3 separate regions of the Homo sapiens genome follow, and all the other regions are linked to region 3. The links are contacts of gene promoters, found by promoter capture Hi-C in human tissues and cell types (Jung and others, 2019). All regions are on one chromosome and are shown on one strand. The core of a region is centred on a gene start or on the middle of the fragment in contact, and the rest is flanking DNA. Distances in the headings are between cores, read along the strand shown.

The links. The method cuts DNA at HindIII sites, captures the fragments that hold promoters and counts their contacts. A contact is called where the count stands out against the background at its distance.
Region 1: a contact is called between a fragment that was not itself captured here and the fragment with the promoter of ZNF250 in region 3, in 2 of the 25 tissues and cell types used here (lymphoblastoid cells and mesendoderm cells).
Region 2: the fragment with the promoter of C8orf33 here is called in contact with the fragment with the promoter of ZNF250 in region 3 in 1 of the 25 tissues and cell types used here (IMR-90 fibroblasts).

Annotation. Positions count from the first base shown.
Region 1 is chr8:145,030,715-145,035,070 of GRCh38, forward strand. It overlaps the pseudogene LOC124902043. Among named protein-coding and RNA genes, the nearest start is that of C8orf33, 20 kb to the right of the region's middle. The HindIII fragment of the contact is 4,725 bases long and covers 1-3,622 here.
Region 2 is chr8:145,051,016-145,055,370 of GRCh38, forward strand. It overlaps C8orf33 (chromosome 8 open reading frame 33), which reads left to right and starts at 1,452. Exons shown (of 5, transcript NM_023080.3): 1 at 1,452-1,482; 2 at 1,571-1,882; 3 at 2,047-2,131; 4 at 2,282-2,428; 5 at 3,003-4,355. The coding sequence starts at 1,477. The coding sequence ends at 3,142. RefSeq lists enhancers at 878-1,007, 1,048-1,097, 2,026-2,826 and a silencer at 1,308-1,377. The HindIII fragment of the contact is 15,142 bases long and covers 1-4,355 here.
Region 3 is chr8:144,899,520-144,903,788 of GRCh38, forward strand. It overlaps ZNF250 (zinc finger protein 250), which reads right to left and starts at 1,934. Exons shown (of 6, transcript NM_001109689.4): 1 at 1,880-1,934. LOC124902042 reads left to right here and starts at 2,105. Exons shown (of 1, transcript XM_047422534.1): 1 at 2,105-2,762. The coding sequence starts at 2,163. The coding sequence ends at 2,762. RefSeq lists enhancers at 1,280-1,884, 1,885-2,487, 2,488-3,091 and silencers at 1,618-1,727, 2,788-2,867. The HindIII fragment of the contact is 10,274 bases long and covers 1-4,269 here.

The sequences.
Region 1 (4,356 bases), core at 10-2,509, 130 kb after region 3:
TAAATACCTTGTGCACGGCTATGTTATGACACATCACCAGATTAATAAATTTAAACCTAATAAGAAGCCCTGCCCTAGGCAGGCCACTAAATGGTCTGGAAAGCTAGAGGTGCTAACCTGGGAAGATTGTATTGCAAACAGCGATGCTGTACTGCAAAATAATTCCTATGGAATCATCATTGATTTGGCCCCTAGGAGAGGCTTTGCAGTAAATTGTACTGGACAGCGTGAAGATTGTAGAGAGACTCCTTTTGCAAACGACCACCCAGATTATGCACCAAAATTATATAGAAGAATGGAAGCACATTTCCCTATTAAGTGGGAGGGGAATGGTATGGCTCCTTCAAGCCCCAAAATAATTGATCCAATTATAAGTCCAGAACATCCAGAATTGTGGAAATTAATGATGGCTCAAACCCAATTCGGATTTGGAAAGGAGAATATAAAACAGAGACCCATAGTAAAAACTTCAATTTGTTGTAGCCATGACTTCTAATCAGATGGTCCCATTGCAGAGTTGTGTTAAACCTCCTCTTATGTTGGCAGTGGGAAAAATTAATATCCTACCTGACTCTCAAACCATATCATTCCTCAACTGTCATCTTTTTACCTGCATTAATTCTACCTTTAATAAAGATAATAACATTTTACTGGTTAGGGCCTGAGAAGGAGTTTGGATACCTATTTCCCTCAATAGACCTTGGGAGTCCTCTCCCTCCATACATATTATCACTGAATTACTAAAAGGAATACTTAATAGATAAAAGAGATGCATATTTACTTTAATAGCTGTGATCATGGGCCTTATAGCTGTCACAGCTGCTGCTGCTGTTGCTGGTGTTGCTTTGCACACTTCTATTCAAACTGTGGGCTTTGTGGATAGTTGGCAGAAAAATTCTTCTAAGCTTTGGAATCCCCAAAGCCAAATAGATCAAAAATTGGCAAATCAAATTAATGATCTCCATCAAACAGTAATGTGGATGGGAGATTGGATTATGAGCTTGGAGCATAGAATTCAAATGCAACGTGATTGGAATACTTCTGATTTTTGTATTACTCCTAGCTCTTACAATGCCAGTGAACACCATTGGGAGATGATTAGATGTCACCTACAAGGAAAAGAAGATAATTTATCATTAGATATTGCTAAACTGGAAAAACATGTTTTTGAGACATCTAAGGTTCATCTCACCCTGTTGCCTGGAGATGATATTCTTGCTGGAGCTGCTGATGGCCTTTCTAATACCAATCCTTTAAAGTGGATTAAAACCATAGGTGGATCAACAATTGCAAATTTTATTTTGGTTTGTGTCTGTTTATGCTGTTTGTTTTTAGTCTACAGATGTGGATGATGCCTTGGGAGAGAAGCCAGACACCGTGAATGAGCCATGATAGCAATGGCAGTTATTAATCAAAAAAAATTAATAAAGACAAAAAAGGGGGACATGTGGGAAAGAGAGTTTCTAGGGTGCCAGTTGAGTTGGTCTCCCCTGTGTGAGACACCCATGGGAAGCCATGGGCAGCCTCTGGGGGGAAAAGTCTCCTTATTGCCTTCATGTCTTTATGCCCTGAGAGCATAACTGCTCAGCAGCATTCCACAGGTTGCTCAGGGAGATAACACTCCCTTGAAGCAGTGGAGTATAATCAAACATCTTGGCTCCTCCTGAAACCCGCAAGATCTTAAGTAGTTTAGACATACACCTCTGCTCAAGGAAATTCACAGAAACCGCCACTGCTATACATCTTATCGAATGACTCACGAGTTCTCCTTCACTGATTAATCCTTTTTCCCACCCCTTCCTCCCCCTCCCATCTGCCTTAAGAACAAAGAGCTTGTAGACCAATAAATTGGGCAGAGCCTGAGAGCTCTGGGCCATGAGCAAGCCTCCAACACTCTTGTCCCCTGGACCTGCCTTTTAAATGCTTATTCTGTCTCTTTCCAACTCCTTTGTCTCTGCTGGATTTGGGGTACCCACTGGGTGTTGTGGGGCTGGTTTCCCCAACAGTGGAAAAAAGGCTGGCCTCACTGTTTATGGGTAGTTGTGGCAGTGGCAATCTCAGTATCAGAGGCTATGAAAATAATACAAGGAAAGGATCTCACCATCTGGACTACTCATGATGTAAATGGCATAATAGGTGCCAAAGGTAGTTTATGGCTATCAGACAACTGCCTGCTTAGATACCAGCTGCTACACCTTGAGGGACTGGTGCTTCAAATATGCACATGTGCAGCCCTAAACCCTGTCACCTTTCTCCCAGAGGATGGAGGACCAGTTGAGCACTACTGCCAACAAATTATAGTCCAGACTTATGCCACTGAGAGGATCTCTTAGAAGTCCCCTTAGTTAATCCTGACCCTAACCTATATACCAATGGAAGTTCATTTGTGGAGAATTGGATATGAAGGGCAGGTTATGCCATAGTTAGTGATGTAACGGTACTTGAAAGTAAGCCTCTTCCCCCAGGGACCAGTGCCCAGTTAACAGAACTAGTGGCACTTACCCAAGCCTTAGGACTGGGAAAGGGAAAAAGAATAAATGTGTATACAGATAGCAATCATGCTTATGTAATCCTACATGCCCATGCTGCAATATGGAAAAAAAGGGAGTTCCTAACCTCTGGGGGAACCCCCATTAAATACCACAAGGAAATCTTGGAGTTATTGCACGCAGTGCAAAAACCCAAGGAGGTGGCAGTCTTACACTGCAAAGCCATCAAAAAGAGGAAGGAGAGCAGAGAACAGCAGCATAAGTGGCTGGCAGGGCACTTGACAAAGAGAAGGACAAAGAGAAGGAAAGAGAGAGAGAGGGAGAGAGAGGAAAGACAGAAAGTCAAAGAGAGAAGGAAAGAGAGAGGGATAGAGAGAGGGAAAGACAGAAAAAGAGAGAAGGAAAGAGAGAGAGGAAGAGACAAAGAGGAAGTCAGAGAGAAAGAAAGAGAGACAGAAAGTCAAAGAGAAGGAGAGGAAGAGACAGACAAAGAGGGAGTCAGAGAAAGAGAGAAAGAGACAAAGTCAAAGAGAGAAACAGAGAGACAGAAAGTCAAAGAAAGAGAGAGAGAAGTATTAAAGAAAAAACAGTGTACCCTATTCCTTTAAAAGCCAGGGCAAATTTAAAACCTATAATTGATAATTGATTTAAAACCACAATGAGATACCATCTCACACCAGTTAGAATGGCAATCATTACAAAGTCAGGAAACAACAGGTGCTGGAGAGGATGTGGAGAAATAGGAACACTTTAACACTGTTGGTGGGACTGTAAACTAGTTCAACCATTGTGGAAGTCAGTGTGGTGATTCCTCAGGGATCTAGAACTAGAAATACCATTTGACCCTGCCATCCCATTACTGGGTGTATACCCAAAGGACTATAAATCATGCTGCTATAAAGACACATGCACACGTATGTTTATTTCGGCATTATTCACAATAGCAAAGACTTGGAACCAACCCAAATGTCCAACAATGATAGACTGGATTAAGAAAATGTGGCACATATACACCATGGAATACTATGCAGCCATAAAAATGATGAGTTCACGTCCTTTGTAGGGACATGGATGAAATTGGAAATCATCATTCTCAGTAAACTGTCGCAAGGACAAAATACCAAACACCGCATGTTCTCACTCATAGATGGGAATTGAACAATGAGAACACATGGACACAGGAAGGGGAACACCACACTCTGGGGACTGTTGTGGGGTGGGGGGAGGGGGGAGGGATAGCATTAGGAGATATACCTAATGCTAAATGATGAGTTAATGGGTGCAGCACACCAGCATGGCACATGTATACATATGTAACTAACCTGCACATTGTGCAGATGTACCCTAAAACTTAAAGTATAATAAAAAATATATATATACAGAAAAAAAAAGTCTTCTCCAATACCACCTTGTTGTCAGTGTAAACAAGGGTATAGCCCGAAAGCACTGAGGCCACTGACAACCCATAGCATTCCTATCAAAAATCCTTAACCCAGCAGGTTTCCTAACAGGGGATCTAAATTAATTACCATACAAAGGTCTGAACATACCTAAGAGGAACTCCCTTCAGGACAGGATAATAGATGGTTCCTTCCAGGCGATTAAGGGAAAAAGACACAATGGGTATTCAGTAAGTGATAAGGAAACTCTTGTAGAAGCAGAGTTAGGAAAATTGCCTAATAATTGGTCTGCTCAAATGTGTGAGTTGTTTGCACTCAGCTAAACCTTAAAGTACTTACAGAATCAGGAAAGAGGATCTATACCAATTCTAAGTTAACATGGACTGAACGAGGTCTTATTAATAGCAAAGAATAATTGAAATCCCAAACTTCCAAGGTTTTCAACAAAAGTAGTTTGCTAAAAGTTA
Region 2 (4,355 bases), core at 202-2,701, 150 kb after region 3:
CTCCCGGGTTCATGCCATTCTCCTGCCTCAGCCTCCCGAGTAGCTGGGACTACAAGTGCCCGCCACTATGCCCGGCTAATTTTTTGGTATTTTTTAGTAGAGACGGGGTTTCACTATGTTAGCCAGGATGGTCTCAAACTCCTAACCTCGTGATCCGCCCGCATCGGCCTCCCAAAGTGTTGGGATTACAGGCGTGAGTCACCGCGCCCGGCCAATCCGCCGAATTTTGGGAGTAATGTATCACACTGCAGTAAATAACTATCAGTGATGACCAAACTGTAACCCTTCGAGACCTTGCAGACCAGGCAGCTAACACTTCCCACCCCACCGTCTCAGGAAACACCGCTTTCCACTCCTGTGTCCCCGAAAGGAATCATCAGACATCTCGGACTCTTACCTTCTCAAGCAACACAACCCACCCTCCTGGCATAGCCCGTTGCCCCCCTGAAACCCTACTCAGCCTCACCTCAACCCCTACGCAATTCCTCTCGGTTGTCATGCCTCCATCGGCGGGGGTCGAGTGTTGTGTGTGACCCCAGGTCTCTAGCAAGGTATAGTGGGAGGGAAGCATCCAGGGGAAGAGAGGTGGTGGGATGGGGCTCTCCCTCTCCCCCATACCGCCACCCTCCCTCACGTCCATATCCTGTCCAAGGCTCTTCCCGCGTCTGCTTCTGAAACCCCTCCACGTCCCTCCACCCCATGTGCCCCACTCGTTACACAAGAGCAGAGAGATCTGCAGAACATACGTCTACGATTATGCCACTCTTCAGATTTACATCTTGCAGCGACTTCCCACTGCGTTAGAACGGAAGTAAGCCCATGACGGGGGCCCTCCCAACTCTCAGACCTCACCCGAGCCTCCACGTCCCGAGACGCCGGCCTCTCAAACGACCGCGCCCTGACCCTCGCTCTTCCCCATTTCCCAGGGTCTTTGCCGACCACCCTCTTGCGCCGTAGCTGCTCACGTGCTGTTTACTTGCTTTTCCCTCCCCACCAAAAGGTGAGCCTTGAGAAGACACACCCTCGTGGAGAGCTTTGAACTTTTATCCGGAAAGGTGCCGGGCACGTAGTCAGCGCCCGCGATCACTCGCTCACAAGGGTTCTTCCGAGACCCCTCTTCAGCCTCTTCCCCGAACCCCCAGGCCCCGCCCCAGCCCCATCTCAGCTTCGTCCCAGGCGCGTCCCAGCTTCGCCCCGTCCCAGCTTCATCCCACCCCAGCCGCGCCCCGCCCCGCCCGCTCCCCGCCCCGCCCGCGCCCCGCCCGCGCCCCGCCCCGCCCGCGCCCCGCCCGCGCCCCGCCCGCGCCCCGCCCGCGCCCCGCCCGCGCCCCGCCCGCGCCCCGCCCGCGCCCCGCCCGCGCCCCGCCCGCGCCCCGCCCGCGCCCCGCGGAACCTAGAGTCGCAGGCGCGTTCTTGAAGGACGGAATTCGGCGTCGGACTCTGCGCCCCGCGTAGTTCCGGTGGCGACTGCGGCGCATGGCGGTGAGCGGTGTGGAGAAGACGCGCGGGTGGCTGGGCCTTGCATTGTTGGCGGCTCTCGGTGACCCTCGTGCTACCCCCCTTTCTCCAGGCCCTGGGACATCTTGCTGGGGAGGCAGCGGCGGCCCCAGGCCCGGGTACTCCCTGCGCGTCCCGCGGAGCCCGGCTTCCCGGCCCAGTTTCCAGCGCCCGGAATCCTTCCACTGTCTGTCTCTGCCCAGAGCAACCTACGTGCAGTAACGCTGACTCCAGAGCGCACCCGTTGGGCGATGAAGGCGGCACAGCGTCGAAAAAACAAAAGAATAAGAAGAAAACGCGGAACAGGGCCTCTGTGGCAAATGGAGGCGAGAAGGCCTCAGAGAAACTCGCCCCAGAAGAAGTTCCCCTAAGCGCTGAGGCCCAGGCAAGGGCGGGCTTCGGTCGGGAAGGGTGGAATCCACGGGTGCGAATCCACGGGCACGTGTGATCTGGGGTCCGCGGAGTTAAGGCGGGGAGGGGCATGGGATGGGGCCGGCGGCTATGGTTTTCCAGTGCCCTCTCACAGCCACTTCCCCAAATCCATCACAGGCACAACAGTTGGCCCAGGAATTGGCTTGGTGTGTGGAGCAACTGGAGCTGGGCCTCAAGAGGCAGAAACCCACCCCGAAACAGAGTAAGGGACCCTTCTGTAGAGCTGGGGGATGTGAACAGTGGCACTGCCTGGCCTGCAGGTGCTGGCAGAGTATGGAGTTGTTGGCTTTGCGGCGGGGTGGTAGGAGGTCAGTAATAGAGGTGTTCACTAGTCCTTTATTTTTATTCGCAGAAGAGCAGGCTATTGGAGCAATCCGAACCCTGCGCAGCAAAAGAACGCCCTTGCCCCGGAAGAGGCAGCTGATGCACTCCTTGTTTGGAGACTATAGGGCTCAGATGGAAGCCGAATGGCGTGAGGCCCTGCGGGCTCTCAGAGCTGGTGAGGAGCTAGCCACTGGTTGATTCAGGAAGGCCTAACTTAAGGAGGAAGTGTCTAGGGGGTGAAAGGAAGAAGGCCCAGAGCAACAAGCCTGGTGGGGGAAGGAGATGGGCTCAGGGAAGCCTGAGGGAGCAGGGAAACAGAAAGCGTGGACCTCTCTTTCCTCTTCCTAGGACTGAACCTGGGAAGCAGCGGGGAGGCCCTGGGAGGAGTGGGAAAGAGCATGGTCCTATGTTGGTCCTGCTCCTGGGTTGGGGAAAGCTGCCTCATGTCTTTGTGTCTTGGCTTTCTCTACTAGCAATGAAGCCATATCCCATAACAGTTTGAGTGCAATTCCTGGGGCCAGATCAGCTAGGTTCAAATCCTGGATCTACCACATAGTAGTACTAACACCTTTTGCAAACTACTGAACCTCTCTAAGTGGGGGATGATAGTAATATCAACCTTACAAATTTGAGGAATTAATCAGTTAATTTATGCAAGGTGGTTAGAATTGTATGGGCAAACATAACTGTACAGGTAATGTTAATTGTTATTATTCAGTTCTGACATACGCTGCTTCTCTCCCCGACAGCTGCTTATTCAGCCCAGGTGCAACCTGTAGATGGAGCCACCAGAAAGAAGAGCCAAAGGGTCTGCAGGCCTCGCTCTATATGGAGAGCCAAAGCCACTCTGGACATGCCTGATGAAGAGTTTAGGTTCAATTTCTTTTAGCGTCTCCCCGAACCTGAAACAATCCCCCTCCCTTGGGGTGGTGTAGGGGTTTGTTTTGAGTGCAGAGCCTTTCCAGGACTTCTGTTGTCAGAGAACCCTGGAGTTGGTCTGTCCCTGGCTGGTCCAAGGATTTGTAGCTGTTGTGAAGGTGTGAGACCATCAGATAGGCAAAAGACCCCGTTCGTTTTCTGATGAAATGTTCTCTCTTTCAGAAGAGAGAGAGAGGTGCATTTAGAAAATATGCAATAAATTGAAGTGAGTGTTCAAAGTATTGTAGAAGGAATATTGTACTCAGTCTTTAGGATTAGATTAAGTGGCTGTTGGTAACAAAGATTAGTGGAGAAGCTGTATAATCGTACACTGGTTTTCACTTTTGAAAGGAATCCCTGTCAAATGGTTTAGTGCTTAATGCTGTTATGTCATATTGCCCTAATCTCTATTTTTGATAAAATTGGATAAGGAGTGAAAGAGTATGCTGACCACCTATGTTAGAGGAAGTACAGAAGATGCAGGGGTGTGGTATCCCTGGGTCCAGTCCCTCACCTGGTACCTTTGTGCATGTTGCCTTCATTCCTGAGCAGGTATCATCCTCAGGGAACCAGCATGGCACCTACCAGGCCAGGCTCTGTTCTTAGGAGCAAGGAGCTTCTTGCGCTAACAGTTCTGGCCTGAGACCTGGATTGAGCCTTGGCAGACTTCTTGTCTAAATGTTGGCCATTCAGTCTCAGGCCCTCTGTTCCATGGAATTGGGAATCTCCAGGTGACCTAATCCTCATTGGTGGCTTGATGTTTGCTGGTATCTTCCAAACTCAGTTCCCAGACTAGATTGATACCTGGAGCCCAGCTGCCTACTCAGCATTTCCACTTGGGTGCTTCATAGGCATTTCAAACCTGATGTGTTTAAAACACTTGATTAGGCTCCGGTTTTCCTTTGGCTTCTGCTTTTCAGTGAATGGCATGACTGCCTATGTGGGTGGCAAGCCACCCAGGTGCCGAGGAAAGAGACTGAGGGCACGAGCTGTTCCAGTATAATAAAATATATAAAATAAGAAGAGTTATACTAGATCTAGATCATAGACATGATTATATGTGAGTATCATTAATCATTAGTTTATAGCAATTACTCTTTATTCCAATATTATAATAATCCTCACTCTACAATCATAACCTAGGAAAAACCAGGCCATACAGAGATAGGAGCCGAGGGGACATA
Region 3 (4,269 bases), core at 684-3,183:
TTCAATAAAAAAGAACTTTAATAAAAATACAGGTATATTTTTATTATTTCATGTGGGAAGGGCTGTTCTAAGCAAAATACCAAAAGCAAAAAGCAGAGCTCCACAGATCTGCAGCTTATAAATCAAAATCATATGCACATCAAAGCTACCAAACTCCAAAAATGGACCTAAAGGCATGCAACAATTTAGTATATGACAAAAGCGGTTTTTCAAATCAATGGGAAGATCAATGGTGTTAGAAATGGCTATGATTTAGAGGAAAAAAGGAATTCCAAAAGCTGTATTCCAAACTCACCCCACAATAAAATAAATTCCAGACGTATCCAACATTTTACAAGTACCACAGAAAAACAAGAGTTTATTTTAAAAATAATCTTGGAGTGGGGAAAGCCCTTTAAAACACAGCACAAAGCCCAAAATGCCTTAAGGCAAAATATTTGACTCCTAAAAATTTTAAATTTTCTATTTTGAAAAAGCCCAAACCAGAATCAAACACCATAATCAGAGTCAAAAGACAAATTGAGAAGCATGTTTTCAACATACATGGAAAAAAATATGAGCTGGCAAATCACAAAGAAATACAAATGGCGAAAACACAAATGAAGGGATTTCAATCTCACCAATAAACGCAAAACGTCGACCTGGCAGGAATGCAGTGACCTGTCAAAGCCCACAGGACCAGAGTCCCGTCCAGGGCGGGAATGTCAATGGCAATCTCCCACCCTTACCCACTTCGTAGAGACCACCGGACAGAGAAACCTATGTCCAGAAGACAAGTTACGAACTGAAAAATCTGCGAGTACCCACCCGGCGGAGGACGAGTGGAGCGCCCCCTGCCGCCCCTGGTGTTAGTCAAACGACACCAGCTTCCCTTTGATGACAGAAAAAAGGGTGTGCGTGCGTGCCTAAAGCTCTAACGGCATTCAAAAATTCTGAAACTGTTCACAGCTCCTGCCTCTTCATACACTGGCAGAGTGTCGGGGGGGATGACTTTTATATATTTCTGACATGCCTGCATTAGAAGAAGTATTGCATATTATTTTCAATTTTAAAATTAAGCCAATAAACAACAAGGAAAATATTTGCTGTGTTGCAAAGAGTTGGGCTCATTCATTAAAATAGGGCTCTAACACAGTAACAGAAAAGACAGCATCGACAGCAAAATGGGGAGAGGATAAGACACCCGGCAAGTAGCACACTCGACCAACTGCTGAAACGAAAGCAGCTCGTTTTCGTCTTGACGCGGGAAGACTTTTTATAGCTAAGTAAAGTGGCGCTCCCGGTGCGCCGCCGGGGTCTTCATGGGGCTCCTCAGGATGTGCATCAAACAGAAAAAACCTCCATTTTTATATTTTGGGGAAGCTCCCCACCCCTTTCCGGGCCCATCCCAGGGGACGCGAGACCCCGAGGAGCGCGGCAAGAAGAGCGGCCCGGGGGTCCGGACTGCGCCCCTAGGACTCCGGCCATCCTGGCCCTAGGCACGGCGCCCGGTAGAAAGCGCGCGGGAGGGCACGAGGGGGAGGAAGGCCGGAGATCTGAGGAGATCCAAGGTGGGAGGGACGCCGGTCTGACGGGGCCCAAGGGGGTAGGGGCGGGGAAGGGACCGAGGCCGTCCGAGGCGGACGGGGGTGCGGGAGGGCCTGAGGGGGTCCAAGGCCGGGCGAGGGGAAGGGTGGGAACCCCGAACGGGGGAGAGGGCGCGGCCTTGGCCCTGGGGAGGAGGCCGCCGCGCGTCCGTGAGGGGAGGGGACCAGCGTAAACGCAGGAGGCAGTGCGTGCTCGCGGGGAAGAGTCCACGATTCGTGTGGAGGACGCACCGGCTCCGGTGTCCGTGATGGGAGAGGGTCCTGGCCGGCGACGACACGCGCCCCCCACTCACCGTCAGAGCCGCAGCCTCACGCGCGAAGGAACGGCATCCCGCAGCACCTTCAGACAAAGGGCTGCCCCGCCCCGTCTGCGCAGCCGCCAATCCCTGGGGGCTCCTGCCCCTCAGTTCCCGCCCCCACAGCCGAGTTCGCCAATCCTGGAGGGCAAGCATGTTTACGTCATTTGGCCCGCCTGCCCGCCCGAAGCCTTTCTCGGTGACCGACTGCAGGGAGCTCTCAGGAGCCACCGAGAGCCAGACCTCCGCGATCCCTAGAGGGGCCGAACACCTCTGGGCAATGGGCCCGGCCGGCTCCCCGGCCGCACTTCCGGGCGCGGAGGTTACAGCCCATCGCCGAGCCTTACCCGCTCGCAGTCCCGGTTCCCGAGCTCCTGCCGCCGTCGCCCTGTGGAGGACACCCCTGCCGGCCCCGCAGTCCCTCCTCGACTTGCGCTGGCTTCGGCCGTCCTGGAACTCGAGCTCGTTCCCCCCTCCGAGCCTTTTGCCCTTGCGGTTCCCGCTGCTGGGAACGACCTTGCCCTCAGCCGCCTGGCTGGTCCCTGCGCCGCTGCAGTGCGAATGTCGCCTTCTCAGGGGCCCTTTCTCTTCCTTCGTTGCAACACTGAAGTCCTCTTGTTTGATGACTTGCGTGAGGTTATTCCTCCCACTTAGGAGGCTGAGTGCTGCGAGGTCCGAGGCGCAGCCGCTCTTCGCTGTGTCCGGCCCGGCGTGCTCCCGACAGGGGGCGTCACTGAACAGCGACCGTCTCCGTCGCCCACTCGGCCCTGGTGTTTGCTTTTTGGTGTGTTTACACCGCGCACCTGGGGGAGAGGGGCGGGCCTTCACGAGGGCGCGGGCCACACCCGTGTGGAGGCTTCGGGCACAGCCCAGGACCTGACAGCCGCGGCAGGGAGGGTGGGGCTGGTTTGGAGCGGTGTCAGGGGACGGGAAGGCTGACGCCTAGTCCACCTTCTGCTGGCCCCACTCCCGAAGGTCAGGTCCGCGTCGTCCATTGGGCGCGTGGGCGGGCCCAGACTCTCAAGAGGCTTCCCCACAGGGCGGGGCTGGGGGCTGCGTGGGGGCGGCGGGGAAGGCTTAAGGTTAGGGGGTAGGCTTGAAGCGAGTGCCCGGCCCGTGCTGTTGGGAGCGGAGGCCGGGAGGATGTGGCGATAATTCCGTACTTGCCGCGCACCAGGCAGACGCGAAGTCTGTGCTACGCTTCAGCGAACTTAGCAGCCCTTGCGGGCAGGGGTTCGCACTTCACGGAGCTACCATCCACCACGCGCGTTTCGAGCAATGGGCCCGTTGCCTGGCGCACTAGAAGCCAAAACGGTGGCACCAGTTTTTGAGAAAAGAGAAGGCTTTATTATTTCAAGGTCGACGGCCAAGGAGACCGGAGGCATGGCTCAAATGTGGCTCCCACATGTGGGCTTAGGTCAAAGTCGACGGGTTAGGGAGGACAGGTTGGCACACAGAAGTGCTGGCGGGCAGGTTTCAATAGGAGGGCTTTAAACTTGGCCATTTATGGTAAGGTGTGGAATGGCAGGTTTCAGCACCAGATCTTCCAGGATAATGGACCCTTCCCTTCTGAAAGCGTTCCGCCCCTCAAGCTCCGGTCATGTCCCTGTCTTCTTGGCTCCACAGGGAGGAAACGTTGGTTCCGAGTTATGATTTTCCTCCTTTGTGCATGTCCGGGTTACATGACTTTCAGTTTTGGCTCTGCTATACCTCCTGTTACCAACAGAATAGGGTCAGTTTGGGCCAGTCTTGTGGTTACACCTCAGTGTCACAGGATTTCCTCTGCCAAAGGGCTGTGAAGCTCAGGACCAAGGTAATCAAAATTCAGCTCTACTATTGGATTGTCCTGGATTGTTTTAGCAGTTGACAGGGATCAAGCTCTGTCCCAGCAACCTTGATCCCAACAGAGAACTGATGCTCCTAGGACCTTCACCTCAGACCTCAGTGCATCCTGGTTTTTGTTTTTCTTCCTCCTCCACAACTTTTTTATTTTGCAAATGTTGATACATTCATAAAGGTTGAAAGAATAATACAATGAATACCTCCGTGCCCTTCACTTAGATTTAGCAGCTGACATCCTCTCTAGCACGTCCCTTCTGTGTCTCTGTCACTCTTTTTCCTTCAACAGCACAATGTTTATTGAGTGCTTGTGTGCTAAGCACTAAGTGTCGGGGCTACATCAGTGAACAAGCAAGTGCCTAACAAATCCATGTCTTTCTGGACCATACATGTGAATGGAGACAGTAGGCAATACGCAGAATAAATGTAGGAATTACAGAGTGTGTCCAGAGATGGTGAGGACTACAGAAGGTCTGGGCAGGTGCCATTGTGTCTGCTGGTTCACCTGGGCGACATGAGGCAGCAGCTGCCCCCTCTTCCTCTGGCTC